Linked DNA regions of Homo sapiens: all the other regions are linked to region 1. Evidence: promoter capture Hi-C in 16 types of primary human blood cells and fetal thymus (Javierre and others, 2016). All regions are on one chromosome and are shown on one strand. The core of a region is centred on a gene start or on the middle of the fragment in contact, and the rest is flanking DNA. Distances in the headings are between cores, read along the strand shown. Region 1 holds the start of KMT2E-AS1 (KMT2E antisense RNA 1). Region 2 overlaps ATXN7L1 (ataxin 7 like 1). Region 3 overlaps ATXN7L1 (ataxin 7 like 1). Region 4 overlaps RINT1 (RAD50 interactor 1).

Region 1 (3,608 bases), core at 705-3,204:
CATATAAAATAGATGATACTTATACAGTTACTAAACATTTTAATCTACTTTGGCATATTGAATAAAAGATGGTTGGATTAAACCAAACAAAAACTATTATTGGTACCCAAATAATTTTTTTTTAATGTTGAAGCGCACCCATCATCACCACTGAAATTTGCAAGGCTGTTTTTTTTTTTCAAAAGTGGAGACATTTTATTTGCCTTTCAGGAAAAACGAATCAAATTAATCAGCTAAAACACAGCACTGTAATTTGCAGTAAAAAATCAACACATTTTTGTAACTGGCTCGGGGAAGGAAAAACAGCCCAGTCTTTTCATGTAAACATAATAAGCCTGTAATATGCTGCAGACAAACGCACTGCATGGGGTGTGGAGGACCCGAGCTGATTAGATTACCACAACATCAGCCTGGGGCCGCCATTTTTAGAATCTGTAAAGGACAAAAGAGGGAAATTTCAGTTTTTACTCCCCATCTCAGAAATTGAAGGAAAAAAACAGACTATTTTCCAAATAGGTATTCATGTCTCCAGCCTCGAGTTGAATGCACCTCACTTAATTCTCTCCAAGGTCTCCAGAACTCCAAACACCTTACCTTATTCACATCTCTAAAAAGGGAACAAAATAGGCAAAACGAGGTTTACTCTAGAGCTAACTCTAGCGATTCCTCTTTGACTTTAAATTGTATCGTTCTTAAGACAGAGCCCAGCAAGGACGGATCTATACGGAACTAAGGCCAGTAGAAGAGAGCACTCTGGATTGTTTTTTTCTCACCCCCACCCCGTTTAGCACAGTGAACCGTTTGTTTCTCATCTGTGTCTGCTGCCATAGAATTTGTGCCAATCCCTTGGTCAAAATAAGCTTTTCTGAAATGAGCCATATTGTAGATCCTAAGGCTCCGGCACAGTAAAGGACGGCGGTAATGCAAAAGGAGTGGGGGAGGAGACTGAGAAGGCTGGGTACTGGGGTGACCACTTCAGGGGCGGGTTTACCCTCTCCAGGAGAGGATGAGGAGCTAGCTGTCTCGCTCTCCCACAAAGAGAGATGCCCAGGGCGTTCTTCTTACCCCCTTCGTATTCATGTGCACATTATACCAGAGACTGCCCGTCAAGAAATGGAAGAAGAAAATGGGGCCTATATGGCTTTTCAGCACCTGAACAAGACGCGGTTGAGAAAAGGGAGCGCTGGCAGCTCCTGGGACCACTTCGACACAAACCCTACTAACAGTCACAAGCCTCCGTCTTCACTCAAGCGGCCTTAACCCGCTGCCAATGAGGAGTGCGCCCCCTCCCTAACTCCCCCACTCTCAAGGGGGTTTAACTGCCAGTTACCCCTTTCCCAACCCTAAAACCCGCCATAATGCTCCATTTCTAGGGTCAGGGAGAAGAAAGAATAAATTCGATTTAAGCAAGCAACGTCTTGCGCCGGCAAAGACACCTGAGAGTCAACGTCGGCTCCCCCAGCTTAAGGATAAAGATGAGAGACCTCCCTCCCCCTTGAAACACAAGTACCCCAACCCCGCAAGCCCCAGGAACTCCCATGGAGACGACAGGCACTAACCTGTGATGTTCACACACGAGACACCCGAACCCCGTTATGTGCTCGACCCCCAAGGAGTCTCTCCGCACCTCCGCGAACAGGCGACCCCCCGACAGCAGCCACTGCGGACACAGGACCCGGCTCCACACACCCCCTCCCCAAACAGCAGCGCGCAGCCTCTTCACCAGGAACCGAGGAGTAGGGGAGGGGGCAGCCAGGCAGTCAACAGGAACGCAGAGACGACGGCGAGGCTGCTCGGAGTGTCTATGCCCACTCTGTTGCCGCTCCCGAACTCCGGCACGGTCTCCGACTCGGCCCCCTGCGCCCGCTCAGTGTCACTGCCTCTCGCTCTGGGAAAATGGCGGCGGCGGCGGCGGCGGCCGCGGCGGCGGCGGCGGCGGCGGCAAGTGCACGGGGTACGCCCGTCCCGCTCCGCAGGGGCAGAGGGGGAGGGGATGAAGCTGCCCGGCGCCATTTTGCTTGTGGGCTGCCGCCCGCCGTTGCCTCTCCGCGGAGGCTCGAAGATAGCAAACTGGAGGCGGTGAGGGGGACGGAATCTCTGTCTTTCTGACAACAGATGCATTCAACAATCCACCGAAGGTTTGAGGAAGTGTCGGTATTCGGTGGGACTGGTTCTTTCCCCCTTTCCCCCAGTGGCCCTCAAGTCTGGATATAGGTGAGCTTGGGCATGCCAGTATTGGGTGCACGAACAAGGACAGCAGGGCTTGGGAACGAACTCCCTCCCGTCACCCTCCGAAAGCGATACACCTTCTCCCCCTCCCAAACAACCCCAGTCCCGTCTCCCCGTTCCTCTCCCCCTCCTCCCCCAGCCCAGTCTGGCCTCCAGCGCTGGGTGAACCCGGTTGGGGTGTCACTCGACGCCCACTAGGGGCTGAGGAGGCTCCAGTGCGCAGGCTCCGGGCACCGGATAAAAGCGGAGCTGGCGAGTCTAGTGCTGTCTCGATGGAGGAGCAAGAAACGGAAGAGGTCGGGGGGAGAAGCAGCCGGAAAAATGCAGCCACCGTCAACGCCGCCTCCCTGCCACCGTGCTTCGGGGTAAAAAGCTGCCGTTGCCGTCGGTGCAGTTGCCGTCGCTGCCTCCTATACTTCTCTTGGCCTCGGGGAAGGATTTCCCCACCGGTGGGACAATGTGCGGGGAGGGGAGTGGGAATTCCTTTATATGGCGGTGATTAAACGAGGGAGGGACAGACAGTGATCTCGAAGAAAAAAGGGGGAGACCAAAGAATAAAAGAAGGGTTTCCCCACTAAAATGACACGGCGATTCCGGCTCTTGTTTTGGGGGTCTTTCCCCGAAATGGTTTCCGTCTTCCCCTTGCCCCGCAGCGACCCAGAGCGCTGGGGGAAGCGGAGTGGGGAGAGGCAGAGGCGGTCTCGGCAGCCAATCAGCGCCTGATGTGTCCTGTCGGGCGCGTCGTGGTTGGCTGGCGATGACCTCATCCTGCAGCAGCGGGTGGGGCCAAAGCCGTAGGGGGAGGCTGTTGCAAAGGTAGAGAGGGAGAAGTGACGATGGTGATCGTTGCTGCCGCGGCCGATATGGAACCCAAGCAGTGGCGAAGGGAATCGCAAGGCTCTTCCCTGACCATTTTCTACTGTCCCTGCGCGAGGTGAGGGCCCCGGCTCGGCCTCTGCAAAACTTTGGGGCGCTGGCGCGGAGGAGGAGACAGGATTTCTCCCGTGACTTTTGTAACTGCGTCAGGGCAAGATGGCGCTGGGTCTCTTTGGGGCGCGGGGGGAGAGGCACGTCCACCGCCGCAGCGCATGTGACCGGGCTGCATTCCTGTGGGGTTTGGCTCCGACCCAGGCCGGGGCGGGGGAGGGGACAGGGCTTGGGCGGAGGAGACTGTGGTGCGGTCGGCGTTGGCGGCCTGAAGAGGAAGAGATGACTGTTGGAAAGCGTTCCCCTCCCCCATACGGCAGAACAGCTGCGGCTCCCAGGGGAAAGCCCCCGCAGGACAGTCCTCGTGGGGTGTGACGGCTGTTGGTGGAGAAGGTTTGGCGCCCTATTTTCTTATCTGCCTTTCTCCCCGCAAAGTATACTTATGTAAGGTG
Region 2 (3,608 bases), core at 484-2,983, 680 kb before region 1:
TTTCGGGGCAGGTCCCCCATTACCCAGCTTCATCCTCCGTGGGGTGGATGTACTGAGCTCTCCAGCATTTTCCAAACTCCCTTCTCTGTCTGCATTAGCAAAACAGCGTTTGTCTGGTTTGTGGTGGAACTGCTTTGGTTAAGCATGCCAGTACTAATTACAACAGATTCCTGCTAATATTCCACATCTCTCCATTAGCGCATTTTAATGTGATATTACAAGTTCAGTGGCTAGGCCTCATGGACTTTCAGAAGTTCTGATTTTAAATAGCCTACCCTATCTTTCCTTATTATGCCAATGCTTGTCAAATCATGGGTCCTTCTTTTTTGGCTTAAAAAAAGTGGGGGTGGATGGGTGGGGCTCTATGATCAAAGAAGTCACATGTTACGTGGAAATATTCTCCTCACTTTATGTCTTGCAAGCAAACGAGTTTCCGTGCCAAGACTGTTCTGATTCACCTAGCACCCATATTCTTTCAGGCAGCATGGATGCAAATGTCCTCTGGTTACCAAAACCACCTGAAGAAACCCCCTTGAGAGTGAGTATTCACTAGCAGTGGGAAGCACTACATATACCTCCCGCCAAGCTGCAGAGCATTTCCAGTCAACAGGAGCACATAGATTTCATTAGTCTTCATGACCTTCATAACAGTCAACGTGAAGTCCACCTTGACACCCAACTTCCCTGACCTTCGGGTGTATGTTTTCTTGTGTTGTACTTTCAGGGAGAAAGAAGTGTGACAGGCAGATTTATAAGGGCGTGGCAGAACGTTCTGTAACTTCCTAACCATCAGCTCCTGACAGGCTCCCCTCTGCATTCTACATTCAATATCTTTGATCTTGGCCCCCCAAGCCTTCACTTCCTGACAAACACCTCTATTCATCCCTACCTGCAAACCTCCTGGCCATCTGCAGTAACCCACCACCCTGTCCCTCAGAGCAAATGCCCAACGCCTGCAGTGAACCTGCTCAGCCTGTATCACATAAAAGTAGTATCAGGCCAGATTAAGCTGTGCGTGTGTCCATTTGGCATGGGCAAAGGAACATGACAGTGGAAACCTACATTTGGTCCAATATTTTCAGTGACCTCTGTTGCAAAGAACTCAGCAAAGGCCTAACTTTGAAACACCTTTTAGAGAAGCGATCCCCCAAACCATGTGCTAAGCTAGATCCCCTCTACATGTGCAGTGGTGCACCGTGGATATACAAGCTTCATAATGTACAGCTGTCAGGCCTGCTGGGACATTCCACTTCGCTGCAACTTAGACTAGTATTTGGTAAGGAACCAGGGGTTGGCATTTAGGTGAACTGATCAAATCAAAGGATGGGGTGCAAACTGGATCAAGACGATTGTTTTCCATTGAAATAGTAGCTCTGGAGTGCAGATGTCCGAAGCTCCCCCCACACTGTGGAAAGGAACCCTTCTGTGTTAGGCACATTCACTATGAAACACTAGAAAAGCCATGAAGACAGGGAATGTTGAGAAAATTGAGGGCGATGTTGTGCTTTTATTTTATTTAATGTTTATTTATTTTGAGACGGAGTCTTGCTCTGTCACCCAGGCTGGAGCGCAGTGGTGTGATCTCGGCTCACTGCAACCTCTGCCTCCTGGATTCAAGCAATTCTCCTGCCTCAGCCTCCCGAGTAGCTGGGACTACAGGCACCGGCCACCACGCCCGGCTAATTTTTGTATTTTTAGTAGAGATGCAATGGTGTGATCTCGGCTCACTGCAACCTCCGCCTCCCAGATTCAAGCAATTCTCCTGCCTCAGCCTCCTGAGTAGCTGGGACTACAGGCACCGGCCACCACGCCCAACTAATTTTTGTATTTTTTGGAGAGACAGGTTTCAGCATGTTGGCTGGGCTGGTTTCGAACTCCTGACCTCAGGCAATCCACCGCCTCAGCCTTCCAAAGTGCTGGGATTACAGGTGTGAGCCACCGTGCCTGGCTGAGGTTGTGCTTTTAGAGTCAAACAACTCCATTGGCCTTTTTAGTTTTATCATTGTTTTCTCTGGAAGCGCCATAGAGGGAAGCAAGGAGGGCCGGGCCAGGAGTTGGAAGACCTAGGGCTGTTTGTGGTTTGCAGTGTGGCCCTGGCCAAATCACATAGCCTCTCCAAATCCCAGTTTACTTGTCTGTGAAAATGGGAATAATAAAGTCTGCCCCTTTTAAGCTGCTTTGTGAATAATGAAGCTGCACACCAGCGTACATTATCGGCCATGAGGCTGAGACCCAGGATTGGACATCAGAAAGCTTTCCTGGGTGTGTAACTTGGGAAAGTCACAGGTTTCTCTGAACCCTGTTTCCCTCCTTCATAATGGGGGTAATAATAGCCGCCCTTCCCACCTCACAGGATCAAATAATGTAATGTGCATGAAAGAGACATAAACTGTGGGGTTTTAACCCACAGAAATCCTGGGGCTACTTTAACAGTTGCTGACCCCAAGGACAGGGCTGATTGAAGACTCACTTCTCAGCCAGGTGCAGTGGCTCACACCTGTACTCCCAGCACTTTGGGAGGCCAAGGCAGGTGGATTGCCTGAGATCAGGAGATCGAGACCAGCCTGGCCAACATGGTGAAACCATCTCTACTAAAAATATAAAAATTAGCCAGGTGCAGTGGCATGTGCCTGTAGACCCAGATACTGGGGAGGCTGAGGCAGGAGAATTGCTTGAACCCGGGAGGCGGAGGTTGCAGTGAGCCAAGATGGCACCACTGCACTCCAGCCTAGGCAACAGAGCGAGACTCTGCCTTAAAAAAAAAAAAAAAGGCTCACTTCTCCCTCAGGACCTGAAACTTCTCTCTTGCTGCATCCCTTCCACCCTCCTCCTTTCCCCACCCCAGACTTCTTGCTCCCGACTTCTTCCTCCCCTGCTCCTTCCTTGGTCTTGGATGTGCTAAGTTGCCTTTGCTCTTCTCCTGTGATGTATCAGGCAACTGCTGCATTTCACTCCAGGGTGGCTCCATTTCAGATCCCAGTGAAACAATTTCTATATATAGTTGGTAATAAAATGTGGGTTACTTTGAGGGGAAAGAGAAAGCCACTATGTGGGTTCCTGTTCACCACCATGGCGCTGGTGGCCCCGTAACCAGAAGAGCAACCTTTGCTCTCCAAAACAAAGGTGAAGCTGGCCCACAGTCACAGTGGCTTTTCCAAACAGCCTGTTTCTACTTACTCATTACTTTCCCCAAAACCTGTGGAGTGGGAAGGGGGTGACATTTTATTCTTCAAATTAGATGGATGGATGGATGGATGGATGGATGGATGGATGGATGGATGGATGGGGCATTAGATTTAAGTCCACCCAGCAATTTAAAATTTCTCACTCGGTCAGACACAGTAGCTCAAGCCTGTAACCCCAGCACTTTGGAGGCCCAAGCGGGAGGACTGCCTGAGGCCAGGAGTTCAGGACTAGCTTGGGCAACATAGTGAGATTCTGTCTCTACAAAAACTTTAAAAATTAGCCAGGCATGGTGGCAGACACCTATAGTCCCAGCTACTTGGGAGGCTGAGGCAGAAGGATTCCTTGAGCCCAGGAGTTCAAGGCTGCAGTGAGCTATGATGGCACCACTGCACTCCAGCCTGGGCAAGAGAGAAACCTTGTCT
Region 3 (3,608 bases), core at 423-2,922, 660 kb before region 1:
TAAGTACAGCTGGCCTGGCTCCTGGCACGGCTCCCAGTGCCAAGGTGCCAGCCCTGCCTCTCTCTCCAACTCCAGTTTACTTTTGGAAGAAGGCCCCTTGGAAATCAGGGTGTTTATAGGCAGCATCCTGACTGCAGCTACAAAAGCAGATTGAACCCACTGATAAGATAGAAACCGGCTAATGACTTGCCAAGCACCTGCCCTCAAAAGTGGGGGCTGAAGGAGACTCCATGCTGTCAAGTGAGTAAGCCAGGTGCTGGCCTAAGCCCAAGTGTGCTTACACAACCATGGCAGGCCACAAGCGACTGTGGTGCTCAAAGTCTATTGGGAGGGGGTTAGTCCCTTAAAAGCCATATTGGAAAATTCTCAACAAGTTCTTTCTAAAAATGGTGCAGGGAGCCACCTTGAGTATTTGCAGCCGGCTCAGCCATTCATGAGGCATCTGTGCTAAGGTTTTAAATACAGGACACTGATGCTGCAAGTATGAAAATATCTCCATGAATAAGCGTATGGGGAAGGGAACACTGAATTTTTACTGAAATGGGATTGCCTGAGAACCTGATGGATTTTATCTTCAGAGAGTGAGGGGAGCAAACTGGAGACACCAGGGTTCCCCGCGCCTATCAGATTTTTGGGATGCTGACAGCTGGTGTCTGCAAGCTCCCTGCTTGGCTGATCTCCAGGACTGCCCCTGGAGTTGCACCTGGATGTTTAAGGAGGCTGTGGGGAAGCAGGTGGTCTTGAAACAGTCAGCTGCTGAGGCCTTGGCCTGGACTTCCTGTGGTGGAAATGCACAAAAGTAAAAGGATTTGGCTTTTCATTTCTTTGGTACTGGGGCCCCCCAACTCTTTGTGATTGAGGTCTTAGGCAATGGTATGAGCTGCTGACTGGTACCTGCCAGCTGCCTAACACCTAAAAAGTGTTTCTTCCTCTCCCTAGGGGAGTCAGGTGCCCTGCTGAAATGCCCACAGACAGTGGGAAAGGAGAGGTCCCGCTGGCTCTTTCAGATTCCTCCTATCTGTAGCAGAATCTTCCAGGATTCCAAGGTGGTAGAGCCCAGAGTTAAGACAGGGGCTCTGAAAACATCCCCAGATCTGATGTTTTCTAGCTCTGTGACCTTAAGCAACTCATTGTATCTCTGAGCCTCAGGAATTATACCTCAAGGAAATAATTCTAAATCACTTTTTAAATCAGTTTTTTAAAAGACAAATAGTAGGTCGACAGTACGAGAATAGCTAAATAATCTACAGCACATTAATGATTGAATATTACCTAACAGTTTAAAATGGCAAGTATGTGGGAATTTGATATGTATATGCAGAATAATGTTAGTTGACAAGGAATAGTCCAAAATATCCATTGATTACAGCTTTGTTAATCAAACTTACCTGTAGAAAAGAGAAACTAGTAGTGCCTCTCTTTTTTGGGGGGGGCAGGGGACGGAGTCTCACTCTGTCGCCGAGACTGGAGTGCAGTGGCATGATCTCGGCTCACTGCAGCCTCCGCTTCCAGGGTTCAAGTGATTCTCCTGCCTCAGCCTCCCGAGTACCTGGGATTACAAGCGCCTGCCATCACACCCAGCTAATTTCTGTATTTTTAGTAGAGACCGGGTTTTACCATGTTGGTCAGGCTAGTCTCGAACTCCTGACCTCGTGTTCCACCCACCTGGGCCTCCCAAAGTGCTGGAATTACAAGCGTGAGCCACCACGCCCGGCCGTGCCTCTCTTAAGGTATTGTAAGAATGAAATGCTATAAGGTAAATCAAAGTGTTTAGAAGAGTGCCTGGCACATAAGAAAAAAAAATTCTTTTTTTTTTTTTTTTTTTTTTTTTTGAGACAGGGTCTCACTCTGTCATTCAGGCTGGAGTGCAGTGGAACAATCTCAGCTCACTGCAGCCTTGACCTCCCAGGCTCAAGCAATCCTCCCACCTCAGCCTCCTAAGTAGCTGGGACTAAAGGCACACACCTGGCTGATTGTTTTTAATTTTTTGTAGAAGCAGGGTTTCACCATGTTACCCAGCTAGTTTTGAACTCCTGAGCTCCAGCAATCCACCCGCCTCAGCCTCCCAAAGTGCGGGAATTACAGGCATGAGCCACTGTACCCACCTGAAAAATCTTAAAACTATTATTACTATTGATCAAAGGACAGAACGGGTGAGAGCAGAGGTTGCTGGCTGAAGATCATTCACTGAGGTTGTTATTGATGTATTGAATACTTAATTCTGCACGGGTGTTCTGATAGTGATTTTCTGTTTTTCCTAAAGTAGGTGAGTGGTGCTTATATTCAATATTAGCACAGTAGATTGGTTTGGTCTTTCTGTTACACGGTCTGGAAAGAAATGTGTAGCAAGAGCTATAAAGCTGCAGCCTTTCACTTTGGGAATTATACCTCAAGGAAATAATTCTGAATCACTTTTTAAATAAATTTTTTTTTTTTTTTTGAGACGGAGTCTCACTCTGTTGTCAGGCTGGAGTGCAGTGGTGTAATCCAGGCTCACTGCAACCTCCGCCTCCCGGGTTCAAGTGATTCTCCTGCCGCAGCCTCCTGAGTAGCTGAGATTACAGGCACCCGCCACCACACCCGGCTAATTTTTTTTTTTTTTTTTTTTTTTTTTTTTGAGACGTAGTCTCGCTGTCGCCCAGGCTGGAATGCAGTGGCGCCATCTTGGCTCACTGCAAGCTCTGCCTCCCGGGTTCACGCCATTCTCCTGCCTCAGCCTCCCGAGTAGCTGGGACTAACAGGCGCCCGCCACCTCGCCGGGCTAATTTTTTGTATTTTTAGTAGAGACAGGGTTTCACCGTGTTAGCCAGGATGGTCTCGATCTCCTGACCTCGTGATCCATCCGCCTCGGCCTCCCAAAGTGCTGGGATTACAGGCGTGAGCCACCGCGCCCGGCTACACCCGGCTAATTTTTGTATTTTTAGTAGAGATGGGGTTTCACCATGTTGGCTAGGGTGGTCTCAATCTCTTGACCTTGTGATCCACCCACCTTGGCCTCCCAAAGTGCTGGGATTACAGATGTCAGCCACCACGCCCGGCCAAATCAGTTTTTTTTTTTTTAAAGATAAATAGTAGGTAGACAGCAAGAGAGTAGCTAAATAATCTGCGCCATGTTAATGATTGAATATTACCTAACAGTTTAAAATAGCAAGTTTGTGGGAATTTGATACGTATATGTAGAATGTTAGCTGACAAAGAATAGTCCAAAATATCCATTGATTGCAGTTTTCTTAATAAAGCTATATGCATTAACGAAGACTAAGAAAATTTAGAGGAAAGTGCTCTTTTTCTCTAAAATTGCTTAAGTATTAAATATTTTAACAATGAGGGATATCATGTACTACAAATTCTTTCTGGGCAGGGCAAATGGAATTAGAATAACTATAGGGATCTACCTTAGGCAGTCCCTTAATCAAAACATAGAAAGACATGATTGAGCCTCAAGTGGGTGAAGGCTTGTATCTGAATGATTGTAATGTACAGCAGGAGAGCTTCACTCAGAGAAACCTCACCTGCACAGCAGCGTCTTTTTGCAAAAGATAAGACCCTGCCTTCTTCTATCACTAACCTAACCCGCCTCCTCACCAACGCAAAACTGTGTAAGTCCA
Region 4 (3,608 bases), core at 569-3,068, 530 kb before region 1:
CACCTGGCTTTTCTTTTTTTTTTTTCTTTAAATAGAAATAAGGTCTCACTATGTTGCCCAGGCTGTATGTAACCTTTTTTATTAGTTCGTTCCCTTCAAAATACACATTTTTTGTAACAGAACTGAAAATCATCCATCAAAACCTTCAAAAAAAGGTTTGATTTCTTCATCCTGTACTAATCAATCCAAACATAACATGCTGTTTTATATACACACAAATAGCAGGAAGAAGTATGCCTTTGTGTTGAAAACAATAAGTGAAACAAAAAAATAAAAATAAAATAAAAAATATATGCATACATACATATACACATACATGTAGAGAAAGGGACTTAACTCACTGGCTCCAGTAAGCATCTAGAGGTCTGCCTCCATAGGCTCAGCAGAGGATCCAGCTAGAGAAAACTTATTTTATTTTTTTGAGACAGAGTTTCGTTCTGTCACCCAGGCTGGAGTGCAGTGGCGTGATCTCAGCTCACTGCAACCTCCACCTCCCGGGGTCAAGTGATTCTCCTGCCTCAGCCTCCTAAATAGCAGGAATTATAGACACGTGCCATCACGCTCGGCTAATTTTTGTATTTTTAGTAGAGACGGGGTTTCACCACGTTGGTCAGGCTGATCTCGAACTCCTGACCTCATGATCCGCCCACCCCAGCCTCCCAGAGTGCTGGGATTACAGGCATAAGCCACCGTGCCAGGCCGAGAAAACTTATTAATACATGCTCTACCTGCTAAATATTTTCCTTCAAAGCAAAGGAAGGGCCGGGCACGGTGGCTCACACCTGTAATCCCAGCAGTTTGGGAGGCCAAGACAGGCGGATCATTTGAGGTCAGGAGTTCAAGACCAGCCTGGCCAACATGATGAAACCCCATCTCTACTAAAAATACAAAAACTAGCCAGGTTTGGTGGCACACACCTTGTAATCCCAGCTCTAGAGAGGCCAAGGCAAGAATCACTTGAACCGGGAGGAGGTTGCAGTGAGCTGAGACTGCACCACCGCACTCCATCCAGCCTGGGTGACAGAGCAAGACTCCTCAAAGAAGAAAAAAAAAAATGCAAGCTGGGTGCGGTGACTCACACCTGTAATCCCAGCACTTTGGGAGGCCAAGGTGGGTGGATCACAAGGTCAGGAGTTCAAGACCAGCCTGGCCAAGATGGCAAAATCTTGTCTCTACTAAAAAATACAAAAAAATTAGCTGAGCATGGTGGCACATACCTGTAATCCCAGCACTTTGGGAGGCTGAGGCAGAGAATTTCTTAAACCCGGGAGGCAGAGGTTGCAGTGGGCCGAGACTGCGCCACTGCCATCTAGCCTGGGTGACAGAGCGAGACTCCATATCAAAAAAAAAAAAAAAAAGGAAACAAAGATCTCATTCTAACAGGCTGAGCATCTATATTTTGCCAACATACCCCAGGTGATTCTGAATTAAGGCCAGGCTAAGAAGCACTGACTTGATGAGATGATATCCAGGCAATGCCTTTAGAAAGGGCATTTAGTGGCCAGGTGCAGTGGCTCACACCTGTAATCCCAGCACTTTGGGAGGCCAAGGAGGGCAGGTCACTGGAGGTCAGGAGTTCGAGACCAGCCTAGCCAACATGGTGAAACCCTGTCTCTACTAAAAATACAAAAATTCAGCCGGGCACAGTGTCTCATGCCTGTAATCCTAGCACTTTGGGAGGCAGAAGCTGGTGGATCACTTGAGGTAAGGAGTTTGAGACCACACTTGCCAACATGGTGAAACCCCGTCTCTAATAAAAATACAAAAACTAGCCGGGTGTGGTAGTATGAGCCTGTAATCCCAGCTACTCAAGAGGCTGAGGCAGGAGAATTGGTGAAACCAGGAGGCGGAGGTTACAGTGAGCTGAGATCGCTCCACTGCACTCCAGCCTGGGCGACAGAGTGAGACTCTGTCTCAAAAAATAAAATAAAATAAATACAAATACAAAAATGAGCTGAGGATGGTGGCGCATGCCTGTAATCCCAGCTATTCAGGAGGCTGAGGCAGGAGAATCACTTGAAACCCGGAAGGCAGAGGTAGCAGTGAGCTGAGATCACACCACCACACTCCAGCCTGGGCGACAGAGGAAGACTCCATCTCAAAAAAAAAAAAAAAAAGAAAATGGCATTTATTAAGTGAATTTTTCTTATAGTATGTGGGAAAACATATACAAATATTAGTCATCAGCAAAATACAAAGAACATTATAGAATAATTTCAATCAACAGTGATTAGATACTTATTCTGTACCAGGCACTGCGCTAGAAATATGCAGATAAACAAGACACAGCATCCGTCCTTCAGGTCACTTTGGTATATAAGAGTGTTGTAAGCAAATAATTTCAACAGTGGGATTAATGCAATAAAATAGACAGGCTATATTTAATGAATGGGCACATTAATCACCTAAAGATCTTGTTGTAATACAGATTCTGATACAGTAAGTCTGAAGTAAGACTGAGATTCTGCATTTCTACAAAGCTCCCAATCTGCCTAAACTAACATGGTATCAGCAAGAGTGGGAAAGATGGGCCGGGAGCAGTGACTCACGCCTGTAATCCCAGCACTTTGGAAGGCCAAGATCCACTTTCGGGCAGATCACCTGAGGTTGGGAGTTTGAGACCAACCTGACCAACATGGAGAAACCCCATCTCTACCAAAAATACAAAATTAGCCGAGCGTGGTGGCACATGCCTATAATCCCAGCTACTTGGGAGCCTGAGGCGGGAGAATCACTCGAACCCAGGAGGTGGAGGTTGCAGTGAGCCAAGATTGTGCCATTGCACTCCAGCCTGGGCAACAAGAGTGAAACTCCAACTCAAAAAAAAAAAAAAAAAAAAAAGAGTGGGAAAGATGGGATGGATACCAGAGATGTTGAGGCTGAACTCAGATGACTTGGTGATGGGATAGAGGATGAGAGGATGATAAGAAGGAATCTAGGACTCCTAGGCTTCAGGTCTGGGTGACAGGCAAATAGTGGTGCCATTATCTAACCAAGACAGACAAGCCTCTAAAAAATGGATCAGTATAGTTTTGGACATGCTGAATTTAAGGTTCAATAAGGAACTTCAGTAAAAGTTTCTGTGGTCATTAGGGAAACAAACCTGATTACAGTGGGTAAAAGATGAATGACAAAAAGTAGAGATAGATAACAAAGGTTACTTTCTGAAGCCTGACAATCAAAGGAAAGAACTAATACCTGCTAAAAGATCATGGGTTTTTTTGTTTCTTTGTTAAGGTTTTATGGAAAAGACCTGTCTATGTGCACATGCTGAAGGGATAGGACTGGTTGACGAACACAGGGTAAAATTATAAGAGTGACACAAGTTTACTGAGGTGGCAGAGAGAACCTGGGGTATAAGGTCTGCCTTCGACTGATCCTTTGCTGAATGAAGAGGTTAAAAATGACTGCACATAAATTTGTCGATTGTGGGATAGACTATTCAACAGACTGAATTCAATGCTACTAAATTCATGCTAGGCTTCTATTTTTTTCTGCTAGGGAAAAGGAAAGGGCAGAATGGACAGGTTGGGTAGATGTCTCAAACAGAATCTGAAAGAACAGTTGAGGGGAGTAGCAGAGGAGCTGACGTTCCCATGGAAGGACTG

What was found. The method cuts DNA at HindIII sites, captures the fragments that hold promoters and counts their contacts. A CHiCAGO score of 5 or more calls a contact.
Region 2: a contact is called between a fragment that was not itself captured here and the fragment with the promoter of KMT2E-AS1 in region 1, in 1 of 17 cell types (fetal thymus). The highest score is 5.2, in fetal thymus.
Region 3: a contact is called between a fragment that was not itself captured here and the fragment with the promoter of KMT2E-AS1 in region 1, in 1 of 17 cell types (fetal thymus). The highest score is 5.0, in fetal thymus.
Region 4: a fragment that was not itself captured here is called in contact with the fragment with the promoter of KMT2E-AS1 in region 1 in 5 of 17 cell types (erythroblasts, neutrophils, total CD4 T cells and 2 more); the score reaches 6.4 in erythroblasts.

The regions. Positions count from the first base shown.
Region 1 is chr7:105,012,487-105,016,094 of GRCh38, reverse strand. KMT2E-AS1 (KMT2E antisense RNA 1) reads left to right here and starts at 1,954. Exons shown (of 1, transcript NR_024586.1): 1 at 1,954-3,608. KMT2E (lysine methyltransferase 2E (inactive)) reads right to left here and starts at 1,890. Exons shown (of 27, transcript NM_182931.3): 1 at 1,560-1,890. RefSeq lists enhancers at 1,571-1,800, 2,061-2,180, 2,501-2,550, 2,342-2,881, 2,971-3,340 and silencers at 1,861-1,950, 2,301-2,350. The HindIII fragment of the contact is 4,615 bases long and covers 863-3,608 here.
Region 2 is chr7:105,693,213-105,696,820 of GRCh38, reverse strand. The region is part of intron 3 of ATXN7L1 (ataxin 7 like 1); the gene reads left to right. Among named protein-coding and RNA genes, the nearest start is that of EFCAB10, 110 kb to the right of the region's middle. RefSeq lists an enhancer at 750-1,513. The HindIII fragment of the contact is 1,044 bases long and covers 1,212-2,255 here.
Region 3 is chr7:105,670,114-105,673,721 of GRCh38, reverse strand. The region is part of intron 3 of ATXN7L1 (ataxin 7 like 1); the gene reads left to right. Among named protein-coding and RNA genes, the nearest start is that of EFCAB10, 90 kb to the right of the region's middle. The HindIII fragment of the contact is 4,917 bases long and covers 1-3,608 here.
Region 4 is chr7:105,538,589-105,542,196 of GRCh38, reverse strand. All of the region lies in intron 3 of RINT1 (RAD50 interactor 1), which reads right to left. Among named protein-coding and RNA genes, the nearest start is that of RINT1, 8.2 kb to the right of the region's middle. The HindIII fragment of the contact is 4,900 bases long and covers 1-3,608 here.